5 separate regions of the Homo sapiens genome follow, and regions 2, 3, 4 and 5 are each linked to region 1. Evidence: promoter capture Hi-C in human tissues and cell types (Jung and others, 2019). All regions are on one chromosome and are shown on one strand. Each heading gives the region's core, a stretch centred on a gene start or on the middle of the fragment in contact. The rest is flanking DNA. Distances are from core to core; before and after follow the strand shown.

Region 1 (2,928 bases), core at 237-2,736:
GCCTGCGACTGCGAGGGTCCTGGCCCGAGGGTGCACCAGCACCTCCTTCCACTACCGGCCCTTTATCTGACAAAAGAGCCGGAGCCCATGACTCTCCGACTGTGAGCAGTGTGGCCTTTCCAAGCCTCCAGAACTTTCTCATTACAACTTTTCCGGGGTCGCACTACTCCCTGGGCCGCGCGGGCTCGGGCACGAGGACCTGGCCAGGGCGCAGCGCCGGCACGAAGGCGCGCGCCGCAGAACTGTTTCCTCAGCCGCGTGCCGGGGAACTAACTGTTTCCTCAGCCGCGTCCAGCCTCGCAGCACTGCTCTTCTGCTTGCTACTCCAGCGAAGGGACATGCCTGCTGGCCAGGACGCTTAGTGGGCCTCGTAACCTGGCGAGTGTGTGCCCGCGCGTGTCCACCCTGCCCCCGGCCGGTGCGCCCCGCGCGCCCAAACCCGGCCGGCGACCACTGCGCGCCGGGCGCTTCCAAACTGCTCCTGTCCAGAGGCATCCCTCTTTCGGCTTTCTCCATCCCGCGTCCGCTTCCGCACCCGAGAGCGACAAGCAAAAAAGATTCAGTGCAACTCAAGGACTGGTAAGAACCAACTAGCCTGTCTCCCCTCTCCAAAAAAGCGCCCTCCCGCGTCCCTCCAGAACTCCCGAAAGACATCAACACCTTCCCGCAACTTTCTACGCCCAGGCCATTTGCAGCCCCACCTGCGAGAGCGAATTCGGGGAACTGCGCCTGGGCAACCTCTTTCCCTTTCTGCTGGGTGCCCTCCCCTCCCCCATCTCCCCGTCTGGCTGGAGTTGGCCGGACTCGGGGAGCCTCGGTGCCCGCAGACTCGCTTACCTCGCATGGTGTGGCCGCTCTCCCGCTCCGCGTAGTCATGAAGCTGCTCCCAGCCCGAACCCCGGAGAGCCCAAAAATCCCGCTCAGCACGAGTGAAGAAGGTGGTCGGCGAAGAGCTGCTCTGCCGAGAAAACCATCCCTTTAGGCGGACGCCGTGGCTGCAGGGTGACGTTTGCCGCCGCCGCCGCTATGTTAACAGTTTTGATGTTGGTGGTGACTGTTTTGATGATTGTTTGTTTGTTTGTTTGTTTTCAGGAAGGGTGAAAAAAAAATGTTCTGGCTGTCTGGTGCCTGGGTTTTGTTTTGGTTTTGTTTTTCTTTTTCTTTCTCTCCAATGTGCTTGCTTTTTAAAAAATGCCACCGCCTCCGGCTCAGAAGATTTCTTTTGTGATCACTTGGACTGAGGAGGAGGAGGAAGGGCAGCAGCAGGAGGAGGAGTTGGTGGTGGTTTTGTTAGTTACAAAGAAGAGGGAGAAGGAACAAGGGGGAAAAAAGGAAACAGAAAGAAAAGAAAGAAAGGCGGTGTGGATGGCAGAGCATGTGCGTTTTCACATGACATCTGTGCCTGTTAGCGGATCCACAATGTGAATTTTCACTGTTCAGTTACAGGGAGGAAGGGAGCAGCGAGAGAGAAAGAGAGGGGAGAGATGGAGAGAGAGCGCTGAGAGGGGCTTATACGCGAGGGCGGGCTTGGCCGCGACTTCCAGGCCCCGCCTGCTGTCAGCGCAGCCGCCAATCAGAGCCCAGCAGCGCCTGGAGAGGCTGGGACCGCGGGGAGGGGACGTGGTGGAGGCGGGGGGTGGGGCGGGGGCTGGGGACCAGGGAGTCCGAGGTGGCCGGGGCTGCGACGGGGAATTCGAGACTGTCCGAACTGGGCAGAGAAGAAGGGCCGACCGGGAGAGTCGGGCAGATCCGCAGGTGACAGGCACTTCCGACTCCAGCAGAGAAGGGGACACTGATCACGGAAAACCTTCGGAGGCAAGAGACGCGGGGCTCCCCGGGTTTCACGTTCGGTCCCTGTCTCGCAACCCCCGCGGGCCCGGCAGAGTTAGTTTTGAATTTATGGCAGCGCTTTGCCGAGCGCTATTTGGGTAAACTTCGGTCTCCGGCGGGGGTTTCCGTGGGCAGGTGGTTTGGGTGTTGGTGGTAGAATAATGCAAACCCACTTTCATCACTTTTAGCACAACTAAAATGCAGTCCCATGGAAGTAGCTGTCCCCTTCCTTTAAAAACGTCCGTCAGATGCTCCCTGACCCTCTTCTAAAAAAAAAAAAAAAAGAAAGAAAGAAAGAAAAAAACGTGTATATGTTCTTTTGTCTGGGAAATTGATTTTTATTAGCATTTGGAGACTCCCCTGGCGATGGACTACAGGACTGAAGGAGAACAGCTCAAATTGGCGGTGTAGCCACCTTACTAATTCAAGAGAAATGGCTGTTGCTAGAAGGTGTGATTGCAGGGTGCTCTTTAGAAAGGTTTTAGAAGGAAGACATTGTTAACTTTAGTTAGAGGCGATTGGTAACTGAACATAGATAAACTTACTTGTATTCCTTAGGTGAAAATTGTCATCTATGACCATTTATTTGTATTTTGATAAAAATCTAATACATATATCCAAACTGTTCCTTTGCAAGTTTTTCCAACTCAGTTGACAAAATAAGCATATAGATGATTACATCTACTTCCTTCCCAATAGTAGGGAACTTCTTAAATACTTGAGTTAATTGAACACCCTAAAAGATTGGGAGGTGAAAATATTTGCCTCATTCACTCAGTCTTGAGGCTGGGAGATGTCTACTCATTAGCATACCTGTTGGCACAGCAGGCCTCATCATCATTTAAGTATCCAAATAATTTGATTTTTGACTGGTATTTATTCATGATATGTCATGTAACACAAAGTACAATGTAGAATTGGCAGTTATTTAGTTAATTAGGTCGCTCTACACTGCCAAGTAGTTTTTTCCTTCCTGATTAAATGAAAAATGAATTATCTGCTGAATTTTCACCAGTATTAAATTGACGTAGCCCTGCTATATGCCATCCCATTTGCAAACCAATGTGTAATTTAGGAAAATTTTAGTATTAAGAGTGA
Region 2 (2,928 bases), core at 263-2,762, 860 kb after region 1:
ATACTCAATATTGCTTCACTCTAAATTCTGTGTTATTTTCCACATAGCCATTCTGCTTTGAATGTGTACATGTATGTGATTTTGTGTGCACGGGGAAATACTTGGAAGTAATATACCATTATTTTAATAAAGGCTATCTCTGGATAGAAGAATTTTAAATGTTTTTATTTTATTCTTTATTCCTTTAAATATGTTTTGTTTTTATAAGCATACATTACTTTATTAACACATATATATGCACATGTATACACACACACTGGATAATATTTAAAGGGAATCCATAATATTCTCATCATGATGAATCATATACAGACAATAAATACATTATCAAAAGCTAAACAAAGTTTTCCATGTCAAGCCCTAAACATCCTAAGCAAAGATATTTGAAGTTGCCTCATCAAAGAAAATTCATTAATTCTGAAACATTTTTGACATATTAAAAGTAAACATTACTCGTCTGATCGCCCATTACTCTCCCAGGCTAGACACTTCTGTTTTAGACCTTTGAATAAAATGTGGTTTCTTTTGCTCATAAAAAAATGTATATTTTAATAATACCTATAATTCATTCTTTTTTATGATATTTTTGTGAGGGCATAGCTATTGTTTATTATGCCAGAAATTGATAATAGCTTAGATGGGTTGTGATAAGTAATCACATAAATTATATGATAAATAATCACATAATTTACCAATTTCTGACATTTTTTGTCCTCAAAATAGTATTTGAATATGTCTATTTCCATTGCCATTATCACAGTAAAGCCACTGTCATCTCTTACATGGATTGATTCCATGATTTCTTAACTGTTATTCCCATTTTTACTTTATCTCTGCTTCAGGCTCTCATTACACAATATCCAGAGTCAATTATTTAAGCTACTACTCTCAGACTTAAAAGCTGGCAGTGGCTCCACATTGCATTAAGAATAAAATCCACACTGTTAAATATACCTTACAAGGACCTGTATGATCCAGCCACTAGACACATCACCAATATCATTTTAAGGTCTTTTTTTACCCTCTCTCTTCTCCAGCTGTGTCGGTATTCTTTGATAATTTCAATGTTGTTAAAATCCTTCCTGCTTCAGTGTTCTCTGAACACATGTTTTCCCTCCTGCCTTTAATACTCAGTCTCCACGCTCTTCATTTGACTGGTTCTTTCTCAAACTTCAAGTCTTGCTTTCTTAATAAAGCTTTCCCTTGCCACTTTCTATAATTTAGCTTCCCTTGACCACTCTTTTATATTAATATTATCATCTTCAGGGTACATCACACATACTAATTCTATGTTTGTTTCCTTGTTCTTTACTTTCTTATCTCTCCTGAACTTTGATTATTGGGGATTGACACCATATTGATTATATTTACCAGTGTTTATACGGCATCTGGGACAGGGCTTCCATTTCACACAGATCTATAGAATACAGTGTAAATGATACCACTGTATGGCAACTCTGACACAAGTTATATATGCACGTGTGCATGTGCACAACCATATATGTATACACTTACATTCATATATACATACATGTGTACATATATGACCATTAATACATGCATGTTGAATGAGAGCATAAAAGCAATATGCTTAATTTTTAATTCAATAGTTATATATATAATTAATTCTTACATTTCTTAGCTTATAAATAGCTATGCATCCTCATTATAAGCTTATATACATAGAAAGATGGATCACAAACTACAGGGTTATATATATGATATCTTTTTTTTGAGACATAGAAAGACTACCACTTTTATCTGCTTATTATAGATATCATTTTGTCCATAGTAAATTAAGGGTCAGAAATTCAAGGTTTATTGATTTCCAGAAACATTCCATCAAAGTGCCTGATGTAACATTTGTCTTATCATCTGGCTTGAAACCATGACATCAAAACACTGATTCCTCTCTTATGTGCATCCACCCTGTTTCAGCATCATTGATCATCCTGTTAAGCTAAGATAGAGAGTTATTTAAACTAGAAAATTTGAGGGTCAGTTGTACATATTGAAAATCTATGATATAGTTTCAGAACTATTGGACATTGTTACATAATTTTATAGGCATGAAGGAGTGTACAAAGTAACTGTTGGTATGGTTGATCAAAAATATGAATAGATCCAAAGAAGAGCCTTTACAGGCACTCATCCTTAGCTATTATGTTCTTGTTGAAATATATTGAATGTACTCAATATAACCCAAATTAAAAATCAGCCAGCTATGAAAATATTGCTGCTGGTATTACTAATGGTGTATAAACATACTCATTATCAATCCACAATAAAACATAAAAAAAATCAGAGGACATTAATTTCTCTAGTCCCACGGGACTGATTAAAATTGATATGCACACATATATACACACAGACAGCTGTTAAAGCCAAGCATAACGTAGAAATATGTATTTAAATTATCTAGGAATTACAGTTGTTCATTTTCATCACAAGATAATCAATAACAATTGTCATAGGGTCAAAGGAGATCCTTCTATCACTGCTGCCTGGCCATAGAATATATTCACCATTATATTTCTTCGAATCACTTATTTCTTCTGAAATTACTACCAGTTCAAGCAATGTTCAAGCTTCTCCATGAAATGCTGTCTCTACAAAGATTTTTATAATAAAAAATATGTGATCAGCAGTTAGCCCTTCATTGCTAATGGCTCTGTTGTCTGAGAGATAACAGGTACAATGATAGATCTAAATCTGAGACACTTTCTCACATTTAAGACACTTGTAATATCCAAAACCTTTAAATGAATACTGAGTTATTCCACCAAACTGTACACATACAAGGCATAATGTTTATTATTGTCTAAAAAGAAAGGGGAGAATTATTGCTAACAGGAATCACTAATAAGTCCACAAATAGTTTTAGAAAATATTAAATAAAGATGGTGATTTTGTTTGCTTATTTAAGAA
Region 3 (2,928 bases), core at 202-2,701, 700 kb after region 1:
TCTAGATGTGTAAATTGGAGCTTGATAACAGATAACCCAAATGGAGGTGTCAAGTAGGTTGGAGGAGCTCAATGGATAAATCAAGTCTGAATATATAAATGTGGATGTTATTTGCACATTGATTTTATTTGAAACCATAGTGCTGAATGAGATCTATTTGGTAAAAGTACATAGAGAAAAGGAAACACTTACCTAGGATTTTACAATTATGTATCTATGAAGAGATTTGGCTGAATAAAAGAAAACAGAGGAGCATGTGTTGCAATGGGTATGACAAGAAGGAAATTAATACGGTGGGAACAAGTCAATAACATAAGTAAAATAAAGCTTGCATTTAATAACACAAAATGTGCACAAAATGCTTAGAGAAAAATGATAATTTAGGGTAAAAACTCCATAGAAATATTTGAGTATGCTGTTTTTCTCATTATTATTAGTTAATTATCAAAATGTATCAACAGAAAATAATCAAATTGCTTGAATATACAAATTGTCCCAAATAAACCACATTGCATGACTAAAATTATTGAGCTTTTAGCAAATAAAAATGCAAAAACAACCTATCAAAACTAAGAGCTACCACAAAAGATGTACTCAAAAACTGTATGTTTTTTAAAAAAGAAAAATGCAGATTATGCTTTTGGTTAAAAAACAAAGTAATAAAACAAAATCAAAGAAATTAGAAGTAAAAAGTATATATTTATTGGTACTACTGCTACTAATAGTATCAAAACATTAAAAAGGAGCCTCATTATTTATTCTTATAAATATAAGCAACAAAATACATTAACTAAAATTCTGAAAAGTCTATTCTTAGAAAATGTAACAGTTTAAATATGTAATGTACATATTTGGTAAAATTAAAAATGGTTATTTGAAAAAGGAAAAAAATCCTTCTTACAAATAACTAAAGAAAATAGAGTAAATATAAAATGAACAAACTCTTACATTGATCAACTACGCAAATGTTACCAATAATATTTAGTGCACTTAAGGCGGGTACTCTCAAATACTGGTAGTCATGCAAATAGATAAAACTTTTCTGAACCATAACTTTACAATATATATAAAAAGCCCTAAAAATGTTGTGGTAAGCTTCATTTCTAAAGTCATATTTATTTAGGCAGAGGAAATATTCAAATAACAATCTATTATTACTATTACCATTATATTATTATTCATCTCATTGACAAATCAAAAACATTACTTAAAGATACCAGAGTGAAGTGGTTAATTTCACTATAATATTATCCAAATTATTTAGTTAGTTAAAAAAAAAGTTTTCAAAAACTATTAAAAGAAATAAACAATGTTCTTACTTGGTGTCAAGTGAAAATAACTCCTAGGATATTATACATAAAATATCAACTCAATTATGTAAAATGCATATATCCATACATAAACCACACAACCACATAAATCATCGCAGGTCCTAATTAAATAAAATATGTTTAAAAGCCAAGAGTTATTATCTCTGCATGATAATTTTATGGATAATGTTTATGTAGTTATTTATATAACTCTTTATTTTCTAAATATTTCACAAAGAACATATCTTTAGATTCAGAAATGAATAACAAAGAATGCTTGAAGATTTTTAGACAGAAGAAAGATTTTAGACAGAAGAAATGTCAGTTGGATTCTGGAAGAGTGAATCAGTACATAAAGTTCAATAACTTCAGGAGAGAAAGTATAAATTTATAATGATGTATGTAAGGTTTTAAATGGGTTGAAACTCATTTCAGTGGATCTCTGAAGGTAAAACATTGGAACAGTGTTTTAACATTTTCTCCCACGACACTGATAATGATCTCACAAAGTTGTTTATAATCATTTTATTGCATTCATCAGCTGAGACTAATTATAACTCAGATGAAAATCATCCTTGCAGAGTGCATTCTAAATATTAATAAACATAAATAATGCAAGTTTACTATTAAAGCGATTCAAAACAACAAACAGAACCCACAGGGAGTTTCTTAAAATTAATCTGGTTCCCCATAAATTCTGTCTTAATATGTTCAAAGCAACAATATCCCATACCACAGGATATATTAACTTTCTCCTTTCTTTTGTTCTGTTTTCTAATTTTATAGGACAAAATAATAGATGTGAGTGGTTGGCAGGGTAGGAAAACTTCAGTGGTAACTTATAGTAATGAAAATGAAACTAATATAAACATCAGTTGTCTAAGAAAAAGCCGAGAACCAGTTGCTCTTGATATTGATTTTCTAAAAATTCTGGAAGAATTTTTCCCCCTTTTCTAGACTGGCAAAAATGGACAACTGACAAGGATATGAAAACACAACTCTCTAACTTCAAATATTTATTTTAAATGATTGGGTTTCAAATCTCAGATAAATGGACACATTTTAGTTTTTAAGACAATCTCCTATCAGATTTTAAGGAGTCTTCGTTTTGATTGTCTTGGAGTTGAAAATATTATATCACATATCCAAAATGATTGGCTTTATGACCTTGAGCAAATTAACCTTTTGGATTTGACCTCTGATAATTGGCGATAAGATTTTCTCCCTCATAAAATTGTTAGTAATATTAAACATGATATGATATTTTAAACACAGAATACACACTTTATTTATGCCCATTTCTATTATTACCACCATATTTTCCTTTCTGGCTGTATTTGCCATTACAGTTTACTGCCATTACTTTCCTGTGTTATAGGAGTCATTAAATTTAAAGAAACATGTGGATACCAGTTTCAACTTTGCACTTAATATGTGATTTCACTTTTGACATCCTCACTCTCTTCATTTGTTAAATGCCATTAACAACACTTGACATAGCTACTCCAAATACATTGGCAAGGATCAAATAAAACTAATGATTAAAAAGACTACTTGTAAACTCTAAAATACTATTCAAAGGATTATTTCCTATTCAAATACACTCCATGTATTCATG
Region 4 (2,928 bases), core at 203-2,702, 630 kb after region 1:
AAACCAGGGAGAGAAGAAATAGGCTAGGACTGACTTGAGGGGTGCAGGTGTGCTGCAGGTGGGAACTGGGGAAGCACTCAAGGACATCAAGATGGCAGCAGCATATATGCATGGTCAACCCAGTCCTTGTCAAGAAGATGCAAAACTTAGAAGTCCAATGGCCATCAAAATCATACAAAAAACCACACAAACAAACTGAATATCTTACAAAATAAACGACGTTAAATGTATATGGAATGGTGTTACTTGGAACAAAAACTGGTTTTGTTACCGCACAGGAACCCTGAGTACTTTGACTCTTGTGTAAGTAAAAATAAGAGACCAAAGGGAGGTATTTTTTTCCCTTCAGGAAAAGTTTGTAACCGCCCACTAGGCAGTGGGCAGTTCACCTTGCCCGCTGCTGATTTATCGGCTCTAGACAGAGCAGATTTATGAAGACAGGGAAATTGCAATAGAAAAAGAGTAATTCATGCAGAGCCAGCTGTGTGGGAGACCGGAGTTTTATTACTACTCAAATCAGTCTCTGGAGCATTCAGGGATCTGAGTTTTTAAAGATAATTTGGTGGGTAGGGGCTCCGGAAATGGGAAACACTGGTTAGTAAGTTTAGAGATGGAATCATCTGGAGTCTAAGTGAGTTTTTGTTGCTGTCTTCTGTTCCTGGTGGGATTGCAGAAGGGGTTGAGTTAGATTACCTGTCTGGGTGGTGTCAGCTGGTGCATGAGTGCAGGATCTGCAAAATATCTCAAGCATTGATCTTAGGTGTTACAATACTGATGTTATTCACAGGAGCAATTTGAAGAGGCTCAAACTCTTGCAACCAGGGACTGAATGGCCCCTAAATAATAATTCCTAATCTTGTAGCTAATTTGTAAGTCTTACAAAGGCATACTGGTCGTCAGGCAAGGAGGGTTTTTTTACTTGTTTGTTTTTGTTTTTCAGGTAAGGAATATTATCAATTTTGTTTTCAGAGTTAAACTATAAACTGAACTCCTTCCCAAGGTTAGTTCAGCCTATGCCCAGGAATGAATAAGGACAGCTTAAAGGTTAGAAGCAAGATGAAGTTGATTAGGTCTGATCTCGTTCATTGTCATAATTTCCTCAGTTATAATTTTTGCAAAGGCGGTTTCAGGTTTAGTAAGCTTGTGTCTCCAATGCACAAGGGAGGAGTGCTGGGGAAAGTGAAACAGATGCCAGGTCCCCAAGGGGCTTGGCCTTTGTCACTTTAAGGAAGCTGAGGCAAGAAAAGGGAATAACGCAGAAACATGTTTAGGTGGACCTTTCTCCTGCCTTGTGCAGTAAGATGTCATGCTCTAATATGCACTGCAGGACCATATAAGGCCTGTCTTGGGCAAAGAATTTAGCATTATGATGAGAGTGTAATGAGGAGAGTCAGTGAAAGGACAGCGCCAGAGTCCATCTTGTATTTATGCCACTGCATCTGGTCAGATTCTTATCTAGAATGCCAGAGTGTTGCTTCAGTGACTTCGGCAAACATTGCCCAAAAGAGACAAATGGTTAGGATTTTCCTTTTATGGTTAGGAATTTAGCCCAGTCAGCTAAGTTAGGAGACTCTTCCTGCTATGTGATTTGGTTTAGCTTCTTAAGGAAGGCAAGAAGGCAGGGGAGGGAATATACCCAGGCACGTAAGACCCATCCGGACTTTGGTTACCATTTCACCTATGTGACTTGTCAGGATCAAGTCTCTTCCCTATACTGCCTCAGTTGCTCTGGAGTATTGGCAAACTTCATTTACAGACACTGCTTCAAGTTTCTGATACTTTGAAGACATATGCATCATTGACTGCACTTTGATTTTAGCCTACTAAAATTGCTTACAAACTCCTTGTAACTGATGCTTTGTATTCAGATAATATAAGGAAGGAAAACTGTGTTCTCAGAAGTTCACTGATTGGCATAGCATGTATAGCCCAGTGTTTGTTTTTTACTAAAAATGGACATCTGACACCATCAAGTATCATGCTGTTCCACTGCCATTAAAAGGAAGGATTTTACTCCATTGATTACTGCTTTGTCAAACAGAGGTGAAAACAATGGTAATTCCTCTAGTCTTTTAGACAATGATTGGATTATTATTATTTGTTTTTTGAGATAGGGTCTTGCTCTGTCACCCACTCTGGAGTACAATGGCATGATCTCAGCTCACAGCAACCTCTGCCTCCTGAGTTCAAGTGATTCTCCTACCTCAGCCTCCAGAGTAGCTGGGATTACAGGTGGGCACTACCACACCCAGCTAATTTTTTGTATTTTTTCAGTAGAGTCAGTGTTTTGCCATGTTGGCCAGGCTGTTCTCTAACTCCTGGCCTCAAATGATCCACCCACTTTGGCCTCCCAAAGTGCTGGGATTACAGGTGTGAGCCATCAAGCCCAGCCAACGATTGGAAGGTTAAGTAGTCTCAGCATTATGCAGTATTTGGAAGGACACTTGAGTGTATGAAGAGTAACCAGATAATGAACGTGTACTCTCAGAAGAATGGTTTTTTTTTTTTTTTTTATGATGAGACATTGCTGAAAGAGTTAAAAGTAACTTTGAACAGACCATTTGTTTCTGTTCCTTTTGCCTGATACATAGTGGATACTCAATAAATATCCAATAACTCAATCAATTTAAAAAAGAAAGAAAGAATGGAAATAAAAGAAACTAGTAAAAGTGATTCAGGGTCAGGGGCTGGGCCATTCAGGCTAGAGGAAAACAACGAGGTCCATTTTACTCCAGCCTAGTTTATTTTATTTGACATTAAATGACATTAGTATATTAATCATTAAAATAGGCATTTACTATGTGAAAAGCACATGTCCTACCCTCAAAGTCATTCCAGTATAACAGAGAAAAAAGAGAAACCAACAATTACAATTATAAGACAATACAGCTCAAATCAAGAGCTGTAAAGGGGATAAAATCAAATTGT
Region 5 (2,928 bases), core at 295-2,794, 530 kb before region 1:
TATATTAGGACCAATTTAAAATTGATATTTATGGGTAAGTATGGGATGGGACTTTGTTGGGGTAGGGGTTGATCAGGAACTGAAGTGTGGCAATATAGAGAAGAGATCTTGTGTGAATATTCTAGTGGTTGTGATACTATTTCCTATACTCTCTTCTTTACCAGCGTAATGTTGGATTCAGGACATTTCATTTTTTAAAAAAAACAGTTTTTATTTGTATATACTCTCTTGAAACACTTCAAATACTTGGGCTGAAAATAGTATAACATCAAAAATATGCTTTTTAAAATGTCACTTAAAGCCTAGGGGTACAGAAAGTTTATGTAGCAGAGAACAGTGGATTGTTACATTCTAATATTTTGTGATCTTCTAGACTTAAACTGTAGCCACTAATCATATCTGGATAAATTTAAGCTAAAATTAATTAGTATTTAATAAGCTTTAAAATTTAGTTGCTCAGTTTCACTACCCATATTTCAGGTGCTCAATAGCTACATGTGGCTAGAGTCTGCTGTACTGGACAGTGCAAATAAAAGCTTTTCCATTATCGAAGTAGGTTGTGATGGACAATCCGGTTCTACACATTTAGCAAGTACAGTTGACCCTTAAACAATATGGATCTGAACTGCACGGGTCCACTTATACACAAATTTTTTGAAATAAACATATTGGAAAATTGTTTTGACATTTGCAACAATTTGAAAAACTTAGCAAACTTGCATAGCCTAGAAATAGTGAAAAAATTAAGAAAAAATTATGCCATGAATGCATATGTGTAGATACTAGTTTATCATTTACTACCATAAAATATACACAAATCTATTATAAAAAGTTAAAATTTATCAAAACTTACACAAACACAGATCTTACATGGAGCTATTTGCAATTGAGATAAATGTAAACAAGCAAAGATGTAGCATTAAATCTTAGTTGCATAAAATTATCTGTAGTAGATACTGTACTACTGTAATAATTTTGTAGCCACTTCCTGTTGCTTTTGCAGTAAGCTCAGATGTTACCAGTATCTTCTTAAAATAATCACTCTGCTTTTGTCTGTCAAGTAAATTGCATATAGCAGTAAACAGATTTCATCAAATTTAATGCAATACCATAAACCTTAAATAACACCATGGGTCCCATATGACGTGCCACTGGTGATGCTGCAGGTGCTCCCAAGAAGCAGAGAAAAAAGACATTACAAGAAAAAGTTGATTTGTTTGATATGTACTGTAGATAGAGGTCTGCAGTTGGAGGTTGCCCCCCAACCCCATTTCAGACAGAGGATTCATCTTGTAATCAAATTATGTAAACTTATAGTATTGATAAATGCAGTGCAGTAGTGTAAATGTATTTTCCCTTTCCTACGACTTTCTTAATATTTTCTTAGCTTTATTGTAAGAATATAGTACGTAATATATTAACATACAACATATCTGTCAGTTGTTTATGTTATTGGTACGGCTTTCGGTCAGTAGTAGGCTATTAGTAGTTAAGTTTTTGGTGAATCAAAGTTAGGTGTGGGTTTTCGACTGCACAGGGGGTTGGTGCCCCAACCCAAGTATTGTTCAAGGGTCAGCTGTACGTCCAGATTTTGCAGGGTTCAATTTTACTGCAAAATGTCTTTTAGTTAATACGTAGGAGATTTAGATAAAAGGTCATAAAGCAAGGAATGTCTTTTGATTAATATTTTCTCTTTCTAATGGGTTTCAATTTTGTGATTCCCACAGATTTTGCTTAGATGACATTCTCATTAAGGTAAAAATGGATATAGCTCATTTGTATTGAATAGCAAAAATGTTAGTTTTATAACCCAGTCTTGTTACGAATGAAGCACCTCAGCACATAGAAAACACTAGAGTTGAAAAGCTGAAAGTCTTTTCAGAAACTTCTTACTTTTAGAAATAACGGGGTGAGATTTTTTAATATTGAGATTTAGAACTGATTTTTACAGGTGAGGATGTGGATAGACACAAAGCGGTAAGCAACTTGCTCAGGGTTACACAATCCAGTTGTGGTAGAATCTGACCTAAAATCCAAAATCGTTACCTAAAATTTTACTGTGCATTAATGAGGAGTTATACTAGTAACACAAATTTAATGTTAGGTATTTAATAAAGATTTAAAATGAATCAAGACAGGCCAGGCTTTGTTTCTGACAAGTTATGTTTTTTCTATTTGGATTTCCTAGAGTAGTTCAACTAGGTGCAGAGGAATGGGCCTGTGACCATGGCCTTTAGATCAGACCTGGTGTGGGCTCACCCTGATGACAGGTGACTAAATCAGAGTTGAGGTCACTGCTGACACCAGGTTTCTAGAGAGAGTTAGAGGTAGAGATACCACCATTGGGGAAAAATGGCTACTAAGTTTACTTTCTCCTCTTATCAGCAAGAGGATGTCACCTCCTGATGCTGACTTAGTTCAGAACCAAGGAGAGTCTGATTTTTGTAAAATACTCCTTCAAAGCAGGTTTGGCAGAGTTTCTTAAAAGGGCCAGGCAGTAAATATTTTAAGCTCTGAAGGCCAAGTGGTCTCTTGTTACAACTCATCAACTCTGCCCTTGAATGGAAGGAGCCTTAGGCTTTGTGTAATCAAATAGTGTGGCTTTGTACCAATAAGACTGTACAAAAACCAGGTAGCCAATGGGCCCCTGCCTTAAAGCAATTCTGATAGCGTAAGCATGTGCAGGATAGTGAAGTTAGCCCCAGTTATAAGGGTATAATAAGGATTGGACTATATTCTCAACTTTAGTAAGATCCCACCTATTTTAAGAGTCACTGGTGGATGTATGTTATGGCAGCTTTGCACACCATTAAGTAACCAGGGGTTTAAGGATCTCATCCTGCTCTGTGTAGTTACTTCTGTATCAAAAATTGACAGCTCTTGTAACCAATCTATAACTTATCTCAACTCACCCTTGCAACCTTGATA

Evidence for each region. Contacts are between HindIII fragments. The study calls those that stand out against the background at their distance.
Region 2: a contact is called between a fragment that was not itself captured here and the fragment with the promoter of RORB in region 1, in 5 of the 25 tissues and cell types used here (dorsolateral prefrontal cortex, heart left ventricle, lymphoblastoid cells and 2 more).
Region 3: a contact is called between a fragment that was not itself captured here and the fragment with the promoter of RORB in region 1, in 2 of the 25 tissues and cell types used here (H1 embryonic stem cells and dorsolateral prefrontal cortex).
Region 4: a contact is called between a fragment that was not itself captured here and the fragment with the promoter of RORB in region 1, in 3 of the 25 tissues and cell types used here (dorsolateral prefrontal cortex, lymphoblastoid cells and mesenchymal stem cells).
Region 5: a contact is called between a fragment that was not itself captured here and the fragment with the promoter of RORB in region 1, in 1 of the 25 tissues and cell types used here (dorsolateral prefrontal cortex).

The regions. Positions count from the first base shown.
Region 1 is chr9:74,495,893-74,498,820 of GRCh38, reverse strand. RORB (RAR related orphan receptor B) reads right to left here and starts at 1,486. Exons shown (of 10, transcript NM_006914.4): 1 at 838-1,486. The coding sequence starts at 844. RORB-AS1 (RORB antisense RNA 1) reads left to right here and starts at 268. Exons shown (of 5, transcript NR_125791.1): 1 at 268-579. RefSeq lists silencers at 1,254-1,548, 1,453-1,642, 1,638-1,850. The HindIII fragment of the contact is 7,823 bases long and covers 1-2,928 here.
Region 2 is chr9:73,632,328-73,635,255 of GRCh38, reverse strand. No RefSeq gene overlaps it. Among named protein-coding and RNA genes, the nearest start is that of ANXA1, 480 kb to the right of the region's middle. The HindIII fragment of the contact is 4,485 bases long and covers 1-2,928 here.
Region 3 is chr9:73,792,637-73,795,564 of GRCh38, reverse strand. No RefSeq gene overlaps it. Among named protein-coding and RNA genes, the nearest start is that of ANXA1, 640 kb to the right of the region's middle. The HindIII fragment of the contact is 4,480 bases long and covers 1-2,928 here.
Region 4 is chr9:73,870,416-73,873,343 of GRCh38, reverse strand. It overlaps the pseudogene LOC100420008. Among named protein-coding and RNA genes, the nearest start is that of RORB, 630 kb to the left of the region's middle. The HindIII fragment of the contact is 7,230 bases long and covers 1-2,928 here.
Region 5 is chr9:75,023,424-75,026,351 of GRCh38, reverse strand. The region is part of intron 1 of CARNMT1 (carnosine N-methyltransferase 1); the gene reads left to right. Among named protein-coding and RNA genes, the nearest start is that of CARNMT1, 3.4 kb to the left of the region's middle. RefSeq lists an enhancer at 2,221-2,270. The HindIII fragment of the contact is 3,046 bases long and covers 22-2,928 here.